Linked DNA regions of Homo sapiens: region 1 is linked to region 2. Evidence: promoter capture Hi-C in human tissues and cell types (Jung and others, 2019). All regions are on one chromosome and are shown on one strand. Each heading gives the region's core, a stretch centred on a gene start or on the middle of the fragment in contact. The rest is flanking DNA. Distances are from core to core; before and after follow the strand shown.

Region 1 (4,974 bases), core at 1,270-3,769, 1.0 Mb before region 2:
AAAATTTTCAGGACCTAATAGTTCCCAAAGGAAAATAATAAAAGAAATAGAAGGGATGAAATACTTAACAGATTAAAAAAAATTCCCAAAGATGGCCAGGCACGGTGGCTCATGCCCATAATCCCAGCACTTTGGGAGGCCAAGGTGGGCAGAACATCTGAGCCAAGACCAGCCTGGCCAGCATGGTGAAACCCCCTCGCTGCTAAAAATGCAAAACAAAATTAGCCAGGCGTGGTGGTGCACACCTGTAATCCAGTTACTCAGGAGGTTGAGGCCGGAGAATTGTTTGAACCCAGGAGAATTGTTTGAACCCATTTAAAATGTCTCCAGAAAGAATTACTATGATTCTTTTCATTAAAATTTTTCATTAAAATGAAAAATTATCAAGCCGGGCACGGTGGCTTCACGCTTGTAATCCCAGTACTCTGGGAGGTTGAGGCGGGTGGATAACCTGAGTTTGGGAGTTCAAGACCAGCCTGACCAACATGGAAAACCCCCTTTCTACTAAAAATACAAAATTAGCCAGGTATGGGGGCCCATGCCTGTAATCCCAGCTACTCGGGAGGCTGAGGCAGGAGAATCGCTTGAACCTGGGAGGCGGAGGTTGTGATGAGCTGAGATTGCGCCACTGCACTCCAGCCTGGGCAACAAGAGCAAAACTCCGTCTCAAAAAAAAAAAAAAAAAAAAAAAAGAAGAAAAGAAAAATTATCATGTATGCAGAAAGACACAGGAAGAGACCATCAGAGTATAATTTGATATTCATGAATCAAATATTCATCACTGGAAAAATGATACAATTCCACATTTTCTTGCAAGGCAACAATCAAATGCTTTATGAAACTTAAGAAAGGAAGATCCCTACCAGTAGGTCAAACTGTGAAAAGGACTGCCTGACACATCCCCAGCAGTGCAGCGGAAGGCAACAGACACTGTCAGACGCCCTCAGAAGAGATGGCAAAAGTTGGCTGGGCGCGGTGGCTCACACCTGTAATCCCAGCACTTTGGGAGGCTGAGGCGGGCAGATCATTAGGTCAGGAGATTGAGACCATCCTGGTTAACACGGTGAAACCCCATCTCTACTAAAACTACAAAAAAATTAGCCAGGCGTGGTGGTAGGTGCCTGTAGTCCCAGCTACTGGGGAGGCTGAGGCCTAGGAGAATGGCGTGAACCCGGGAGGCGGAGCTTGCAGTAAGCTGAGATTGCGCCACTGCACTCCAGCCTGGGCGACAGAGTGAGACTCCGTCTCAAAAAAAAAAAAAAGTATAGATGGCAAAAATTTCAAGGCAACGAGCATCCTAGTACCAGAATGTTCCTTCTGACTCTGGCAGAAGGTGCTTAAATTCCAGTGACAAACACAAGAGATGGAGAAAGCGTCAGCATCAAAACCTGCAGAATAGGATCACTAAGTGACAAGAAGGCACAGTGCCACAGTATAATTAGCAGTGTTTTCTTCTTTCTTGGTGACGTAAAATAATGTAAGCCTGGACTGACAGCACCTTAGATTCAGTGAAACATGAATATCTATCCCCTGCTTTAAGAGGCTCTAACACACGAAAACAAAAGAGACAAGATACGTATACTATAAAAAGGCAATACAGGCCAGGTGTAGTAGCTCATGCCTGTAATACCAGGACTTTGGGAAGCTGAGGCAGGCAGATCACTGGAGTTCAGAAGTTCAAGACCAGCCTGGCCAACACGGTGAAACCCTATCTCTACTAAAAACACAAAAATTAGGCCAAGTGCGGTGGTTCACACCTGTAATCCCAGCACTTTGGGAGGCCAAGGTGGGCAGATCACCTGAGGTCAGGAGTTCGAGACCAGCCTGACCAACAAGGAGAAACCCTGTCTCTACTAAAAATACAAAATTAGCCGGGTGTGGTGGCACATGCCTGTAACCCCAGCTACTCGGGAGGCTGAGGCAGGACAATCACTTGAACCTGGGAGGGGGAGGTTGCTGTGAGCCGAGATCATGCCATTGCACTCCAGCCTGGGCAACAAGAGCGAAACTCCATCTCAAAAAAAAACAAAAAACAAAAATTAGCCAGATATGCTTGCTTGAACCCAGGAGGCGGAGGCTGCAGTAAGCCAAAATCGCACTCCAGCCTGAGTGACAGAGAGAGACTGTCTCCAAAAAAAAGAAAAAAGCAATACACAAAAATTCCTTTTTAACACTGAGTTCCCACATATTAATTTTTTTTTTTTTTTTTTTTTTTTTTGTGAGAAGGAATCTCACTCTGTCGCCCAGATCACGGCTTGATGCAGCCTCGACCACCTGGGCAACTTCAACCTCCCAGGCTCAAGCAATCCTCCCACTTCTCATCCTCTTGAGTAGGGGGGACCACAGGAATGCACCACCACACCTGGTTAATTTTTATATTTTTTGTAGAGACAGGGTTTTGCCATATTGCCGAGGATGGTCTTAAACTCCTGGACTCAACTGATCCAACCTCCTCAGCCTCTCAAAGTGCTGGGATTATAGGTGTGGGCCACCACACTCAGCCCTGACTTCTTCTCAACAATGAAACTAAAATGGGGATTTTTTCAAGTAGAAGGCAGTGTCATCCTCAGGTAGAAGCCTGCACTACAGGCAATGACTAGCGTTAGGCTTCCAGCCTGACCTTGCAACCAGCACAAGGGTGCCCCAGCCTTCGTTCTTTAGGCTCACCCACCGGGCATCCCTTAAGAGGTGCAATTGCCATTTGTGCCTTGAGACATTGGCACACAACATGCCTGTGTCCTGAATGGAAACATCCCCTAAAACAACAAGATGTCGACAGCAACCCACATAAGTCTATAGCGACTGCTCTATTTCTTCCAAAATGACAGGTTTCTCCATGCGGCTGGTTGCTAACTGAACCACGTTCAATGCTCACCCTCTCACTCTCTCTCTGCCTAAACCTCTTCATCCTTCCCTATCAAGACATTTGCCAATTTTATCTCACCTTCTCTCTCAACTAAGAATAATATTCAGGTAAAATTAGGCCAGGCACAGTGGCTCACACCTGTAATCACACTGTTTTGGGAGGCTGAGGCAGGAGGATCGCTTGAGGCCAGGAGTTTGAGACCAGCCTGGGTAACACAGCAAGATTCTGACTCTGGAAATATTTTTTAAAAATTAGCTAGGTGTGGTGGCACACCTCTAGTCTCAGCTACTCAGAAGGCTGAGGTGGGAGAAATCTCTTGAGCCCAGGAGTTCAAGGTTGCAGTGAGCTATCATGGCACTACAGCACTCCAACCTGGGTGACAGAGAAAGACCCTGTCTCAAAAAAAAAACATAAAATTTTTCAGGTAAAATTAAAGTCTCTATTATTTTTTTAATTTGTTAGAGTATTTTTGTTTTCTTTTTTGTTTTTTTGAGATAGTCTCGCTCTGTCACCCAGGCAGGAGTGCCGTGGCACAATCCTGGCTCACTGTAACCTCCACCTCCCAGGTTCAAGCAATTCTCCTGCCTCAGCCTCCCAAGTAACTGGGATTACAGGCACGCGCCACCACATCCAGCTAATTATGTATTTTTAGTAGAGATGGGGTTTCACCATGTTGGCTAGGCTGGTCTGAACTCCTGACCTCAAGTGATCCACCCGCCTCAGACTCCCAAAGTGCTGGGATTATAGGCGTGAGCCACTGCGCCTGGCGTAGAGTTTTTATGTTTCTTGTGTGTAACTTTAAAGAAAAAAAAAAAGCAGAATATTTTACATTTTTCTCTTTCAAAAATACTTAAATTCATTTTCTCTATAAGGACTTATAACAATTGCTGGAGAATGGGGAAGCCCTGTATTCTTACCAGAAAGAAGTTCCTCAGAAACCTATAAACTGCCATCTTTTAAATACAGTACTGTAAAAAGAAGTTATCTTCTTTTAAATACAGTACTGTAAAAAGAAGTTATCTAGAAAAGTTATTAAAGAGAGAAATAATTTATATAAGAAAAACCGCTAAGGCCAGGTGCGGTGGCTCATGCCTGTAATCCCAGCACTTTGGGAGGCCGAGGCAGGCAGATCACGAGGTCAGCGTTCGAGATCAGCCTGGCCAACATGGTGAAACCCCATCTCTACTAAAGATACAAAAAATTAGCCAGCTGTGTTGGCGCATGCCTGTAATCCCAGCTACTCGAGAATTGCTTGAACCCGGGAGGTGGAGGTTTCAGTGGGCTGAGATTGCGCCATTACACTCCAGCCTGGGAGTGACTCCATCACACCCCCCACCAAAAAAAAAAAAAAAGAAAGAAAAACAGCTAAAAGCAAAATAGCTAAGTACAGTATAAATTAACATTTTAAAAGCTTTCTTAAATAGTAAGTCACAAAAATGCTAACTCATATCAAAGAAAAACAAATGTAGCTATATTAAAATTAAACATCTGATTTATCCCAGGATTCAAGGGTGGTAATAAACCACATTAACAGAATGAAGGAAAAAAAATGATCATCTCCACTGATACAGAAAAAGCATCTGACAGATTCAGCACCGCTTCAGGACAGTGGTTCCCTAGGGTGGAAGGAGGCAGGGGGATAGGACAGAGAAGGAGCCCATGAGCAGCTCTAAGTTATGATGATGACTCTAGTTTTCTTGCTGGGAGGTGGGATCATGGATGCTGGCTATTATAACTGGATGGACAGAGAGACAGGATGGATAGATGGATACATAAAACAGAACCAGGATCAAGCATAGACTAGTAATGAGAGTAAATTACTCATTACAATCATATCTAGTCCAATTCTAGGTACTTGAGGTCCAAAAGAAAAAGCAATTTTAAGAGCTTATCTAAAGAAACAAACTGCAGATTCAGAATTCTAAAATGCGTTGGATTATAGCTATAAAGTATAATGGTACTTTAAGTACAATACATCAAGTTTTAATCCTTTAGGGGTATCCTAAGGAAATGGAAATACATCTTTCAACCTTAATCAGAATGTTAAAATAAAAAAGTTTGAGCTAGCTCACCTCTTCTTGAATATACTGTAATAAGAAGGGAGATGC
Region 2 (5,318 bases), core at 1,188-3,687:
GTGAGGCGGGTTGGGTGCAGTAGCTCACGTCTGTAATCCGAGCACTTTGGGAAGCCGAAGTGGGTAGATTACTGGAGGCTAGGAGTTCGAAACCAGTCTGACCAACATGACAAAACCCCATCTCTACTAAAAATACAAAAATTAGCCGGGCGTGGTAGTGCATGACTGTAATCCCATCTACTCGGGAGGCTGAGGGAAAAGAAATGCTTGAACCCGGGAGGCCGACGTTGCAGTGAGCCAAGATTGTGCCACTGCACTCCAGCCTGGGCAACAGAGCGAGACTCTGTCTTAAAAACAACAACAACAACAACAACAACAACAACAAAAACAGTGATAGCCAGGTGCAGTGACTCACACTTGCAATCCCAGCACTTTGGGGGGGCCGAGGTAGGTGGATCACCTAAGGTCAGGAGTTCAAGACCAGCCTGGCCAAAATGGTGAAACCTCATCTCTACTAAAAATACAAAAATTAGCCTGGCATGGTGGCGTGCGCCTGTAATCCCAGCTACTCAGGAGGCTGAGACAGAATTGCTTGAACCTGGGAGGTGGAGGTCGCAGTGAGCCGAGATCATGCCGCTGCACTCCAGCCTGGGTGACAGAGAGAGACTTTGTCTCAAAACAAAAAACAAAACAAAACAAAACAAAAAACAGTGAGGCAGATCTGTTGTGATGATGACTCCAAAACACCCTCCCTGCCTCTGCAGAGGGACTGCAGAAAGGGTTATTCCCATTTTATAGATACAGTAGCTGAGACTCAGAAGTGAGGTATTGGATCCAGGTCACACAGCAAGCAGGTGAAAACCCAGATCACCTGCCTAGCTCTGAAGAAAATGGTATTTAGGCTTCACCCAGCACTTCCTATCCCACCCCCTCCCTGGGAAGGGCTGTTTAAATTTTCAGGGAAGTCACCAGCTTCCTGCAGCCTCTAGAGTGTTGGTGGGGGTGGGGCACTGAGGAGAAGCCAGCTTTGTTCTCTGTGTTCTCCAGCAGTTGTTCATCTGGAGGGAGTGGGTCCTGGGTGGACCCTTGAGCAGGGCTACTTGGGGAGATGTGGTTTGGCGACCCCTATGACTTCTGGCGCCGCTATTCTGGGTAATTTTCCACCGCAGCCACTTCTGGGAGAGGAACAAAGGGAGCTGGATGTCCAGGCTGAGCCCCAGGGACTTGGGCTCTGTGGCTTCTCTCCCCCACACACCCCTTCTAAAATGCATCATGAATGTTACTCCTGCTTAGGGCGTGGCCAGATAGGCTATATCTGGAGTTTGAGCAAGGCAGTCTGCAGGATGGCTTGACTTATGAAGGTCTGGGGTCGGGAAGGCCTGAGGCCCAGGCCCCTGATGAGTTTCCTGGACTGCCCTCCACCAAGGGTGCTTCTCTCTGCTTGCATACCTCTGGGGACAGGGAGCTCACTGCCTTATCACATTCAGATTCCTGAATGTTAATTCTGGTTTATTTCAACCCACCTCATTGGGACCCCTTCCCTCCTTCCTGCCCCACCTGGCTCTGTCCCTAGGCCACAGAACCAGGTTCGGTTTCCAGCCCTCTTCTCAACAGGGCTGCCTGCTCTGATCTAGTCCCAGCTTGTGATGATCCAGGGCAGCCTGGCTCTGATCTAAAGCACAGCTACCTCTTCCTTGCGGCCCCTATCCTGGCTGCTCCTGGGAATAAGTGCCAAATCTGGGGTCAGACAGCCCTGGGGCCAGTCTTCCTTGGGTACTGGCTTCCTCCTTCAGGAGCTGCACTGGGCCCACTGGTATCCTATCCCTACAGCTGGATCTGGGAGGAAACCAGATGACGAAATTCCAGCCTCTTTCTTTGGCCACTCCTGTCCTCAAGAGGCCAATCTTCTGGTTTCTTTGCAGAGAGGGGGCAGGCTGATCTCACAGGTCATGCTCCCCTCCACATTGTCACTAGCCTCCCAGCCTGCCCGTGAGAAAGCATCATTAGGCCCATGTTACAAATGAGGAAAATTGAGGCAGAGTGATGTAACTGGCCCAGCAGTTACATCAGGCCTGCTCACAACACAGCAGGCCTGGGACCCCTATAACTTGGATCCTGGTCTGTCTTGTTCTAAAGAGTCAAATCTAGGAAATGAGGAAATGAAGTTTGGGATGGGCCCAGGCCTGGGGCTTCCACTCGGCTTCCTTGCTTGGTGCTGGAGAAACAGAGGCCCAGAGAGGGGGCTCGGCTTGCCCGCGTTCCCGCAGCAGCCGGCCAGAGGCCGCTGCCATTGTGCGCGAGGCTGGATAAAATGAATGACTGGAGGGCGCTCTGGAGGAGGGGCCGGCTGAGGGGAGATTTGTGGCGCAGACCGGGGATCAGGGGTCCCCCGCTCTCTCAAGGTGGGGCGGGGCCGTCTATCTGGGAGGGCGGGTCCTCCCCGAAAGGCCCCGCCTCCGCCTCGACCGCCCAGCAGAGCTGCGGCCGGGGGAACCCAGTTTCCGAGGAACTTTTCGCCGGCGCCGGGCCGCCTCTGAGGCCAGGGCAGGACACGAACGCGCGGAGCGGCGGCGGCGACTGAGAGCCGGGGCCGCGGCGGCGCTCCCTAGGAAGGGCCGTACGAGGCGGCGGGCCCGGCGGGCCTCCCGGAGGAGGCGGCTGCGCCATGGACGAGCCACCCTTCAGCGAGGCGGCTTTGGAGCAGGCGCTGGGCGAGCCGTGCGATCTGGACGCGGCGCTGCTGACCGACATCGAAGGTGCGTCAGGGCGGGCAGGGCTTGAAGCTGCGCCGGGTGGCGCGAGTAGGGGGCGCGCAGGTGTCTCCCTGGCCTTTGTCTCCCCCACGGGCGCCAGCTCCGTGCTGTGCTCGCGCGGGACTTCCCGGTGTCTCTGAGCTCGGTGTCCCGAGCCTCACCGAGCCTCCCTGGTTCCCGCGCTAGCGTCTCGGGCCGCGCGCTTGTGGGTGAGGGCTCCTGGGCCGGGCCGGGGTCCCTTGGCGGCTCCGGGCCGGGACACGTGCGCCTCTACGCGTCCCAGGCCGGGTGCCGCCCGACCGGTGACTCTCCAGCCCTGTGATGGCCACGGCTGAAGCTGGGGACCCAGGCGTCGCCGAAGCTCCGCCCCAGCCCCAGCCGTGACGTAATTGCGAGGTTACTCACGGTCATTCCCTCCGGCCCGAGAGTTCAGCTCGGCGTCGGAGCTCTTGCGCATGCGCATGGGCGCTGCCTCGCGCCCTTCCCCCGCCTCGTGTCGGGTTCTCCCGGTCTGCGACGGGCACAGCCTCCGCACTCATTCACTGACATCCACCGAATGCCAGGCCCCGTCTTAGGCACCGAGGGTTTACAGACAGACCTGGGTACCCCCTCTTTTAGGGAACACAAAAATCTCCCGGGAAACCAAACGGGTATTTAGTTGTACCTTGGGTGGAGCGAGGCTGGGGGAGGGCAGGGATGTGGCTACTTTGGGTAGAGCGGTCAGGGACTTCTAAGCTGAGACCTGAGGGTCACCCCCAGGACCAGCAAGGAAAGATGTTTTCCAGGCCACGGCAAGGGAAGGGCAAAGGCCTCGAGGCAGGGCCTAAGTGTGAGGAGTTAGAGGCTTGCAAAGGAGTGAGGTCAGGGAGGAGGAGGACGCAAACCGACTTGGTCGGCCAGGGAAAGGGCGGAGCAGAACAGTGGCACCGGCTTCCATCTTTGGAGCATCACCCTGGCTGTGATGAGAAGGGGTTTGGGGCCAATGGTGGCACCAAGTGCCAATTAGGAGGCCCGTTGCTTCCATTTTGTAGATAGAGCAAACGGAAGCCCCTAGCAAATTGCCTGCATGGTTTCTGTGCAGGAGTTTTAGCAGCACTAGCTAAGTTGCACTTGGTTGATGAGGAAACTGAGGCCAAGGTCGCAGGAACAAGATGCCTAGACTCACAGCCTGAATGGACATGTCCATGGAACCCGTGGCCACCCTGGGGTTGGCAAAACAGATATATCTATGCCACCACCACTCCTGCCCTACTGCAGCCTTGCAGATGAGCCCAGCTGGTTGCCAGCCCCAGAAGCTTCCCAGCCCTCCCTCCTTCCCCCTGGGGCTGGGCTAGGGGAGGACCCCAGAGGAGAGGCCCTGATTGTGAGGCTTTTCCAAAACAGCCTCCCCTATCCCTGGCACGAGGGGTTGTCCTTCACTGCCCTCTGGAGTGATGAACCCTGAAATCCCAAGCCCTAGGGAGATCTGGGCCTGACTCAACTACCAGTTCCACATCACTGGGCCCAGTGAGTGTAGTCCCAAGAGGCAACGTGACCAAGCCAGGAGGACATGCGCTTTGGGGTCAGAACTTGAACCTGGACACTCCTCACTTCCTTTGTCATCCTGCTCAAGCCCTCTCACCCTCTAAACCTTAGTTTCCACCTCCAGAAAAATGATGCAAACCCTCCCTTCATGGGCAAGTTGGACAACAGAACCCGTTCTGGGCCACAGGTCTGATACAGACCTTTGTTTGTTTGTTTGTTTGTTTTCTGCAGTGGCGCAATTTTGGCTCACTGCAAGCTCCTCCTCCTGGGTTCACGCCATTCTCCTGCCTTAGTCTCCCAAGTAGCTGGGACTACAGGCGCCAGCCACCACGCCTGGCTAATTTTTTGTATTTTTAGTAGAGACGGGGTTTCACTGTGCTAGCCAGGATGGTCTCGATCTCCTGACCTTGTGATCCGCCCGCCTCAGCCTCCCAAAGTGCTGGGATTACAGGTGTGAGCCACCGCTCCCAGCCCAGACCTTTCTTACTGACAGAATCTGGTCTGGGCCAGAGGTCTGATACAGACCTTTCTTACTGACTCATGGATAAAAACATTGTCTCTCCAGAACCAAAGGCCAGGCATGGGCAGCCATGTGGCCCAAGGTCTAGTCTATGAGAGAGTGGGGGCAGTCCCAGCCCCTTGAAGACTGGGGGCAGCCCCTTCTCACTAGGCAGGGCTCAGCTTTACCCACTTCAGTAGAGGATTTTTCAGTTTTTATTCAAACTTCCTGTTTTTCTTCCCAATTACACACATCTTTTTTCATTGTAGAAAACTTAGAAAATGCAAGTGAGCAAAAAGAAGAAAATAAAATCTTTAGACCTGGGGTGGTGGCTCACACCTATAATCCCAGCACTTGGGAGGTCGAAGCAAGAGGATGACTTGTGTCCAGGAGTTTGAGACCAGCCTGGGCAACATGACAAAATCCTGTCTCTACAAAAATAAAAAATTAGCTGGGTGTGGGTGACATGTGCCTGTAGTCTCAGCTACTCTGGAGGCTGAAGTGGGAGGATTGCTTGAGCCTGGACTTAGAGGCTGCAGTGAGCTATAACCATGCCGTTGCACTCAGCCTGGATGACAGAGTGAGATTCTGTTTCAAAAAAA

Evidence for each region. The method cuts DNA at HindIII sites, captures the fragments that hold promoters and counts their contacts. A contact is called where the count stands out against the background at its distance.
Region 1: a fragment that was not itself captured here is called in contact with the fragment with the promoter of SREBF1 in region 2 in 1 of the 25 tissues and cell types used here (aorta).

What each region holds. Positions count from the first base shown.
Region 1 is chr17:18,882,648-18,887,621 of GRCh38, reverse strand. PRPSAP2 (phosphoribosyl pyrophosphate synthetase associated protein 2) reads right to left here. Exons shown (of 12, transcript NM_002767.4): 7 at 4,939-4,974. Among named protein-coding and RNA genes, the nearest start is that of PRPSAP2, 27 kb to the right of the region's middle. The HindIII fragment of the contact is 9,677 bases long and covers 1-4,974 here.
Region 2 is chr17:17,834,105-17,839,422 of GRCh38, reverse strand. SREBF1 (sterol regulatory element binding transcription factor 1) reads left to right here and starts at 2,437. Exons shown (of 19, transcript NM_004176.5): 1 at 2,437-2,696. The coding sequence starts at 2,606. RefSeq lists enhancers at 856-1,757, 1,758-2,660, 2,661-3,562 and silencers at 2,429-2,588, 2,779-3,058. The HindIII fragment of the contact is 17,140 bases long and covers 1-5,318 here.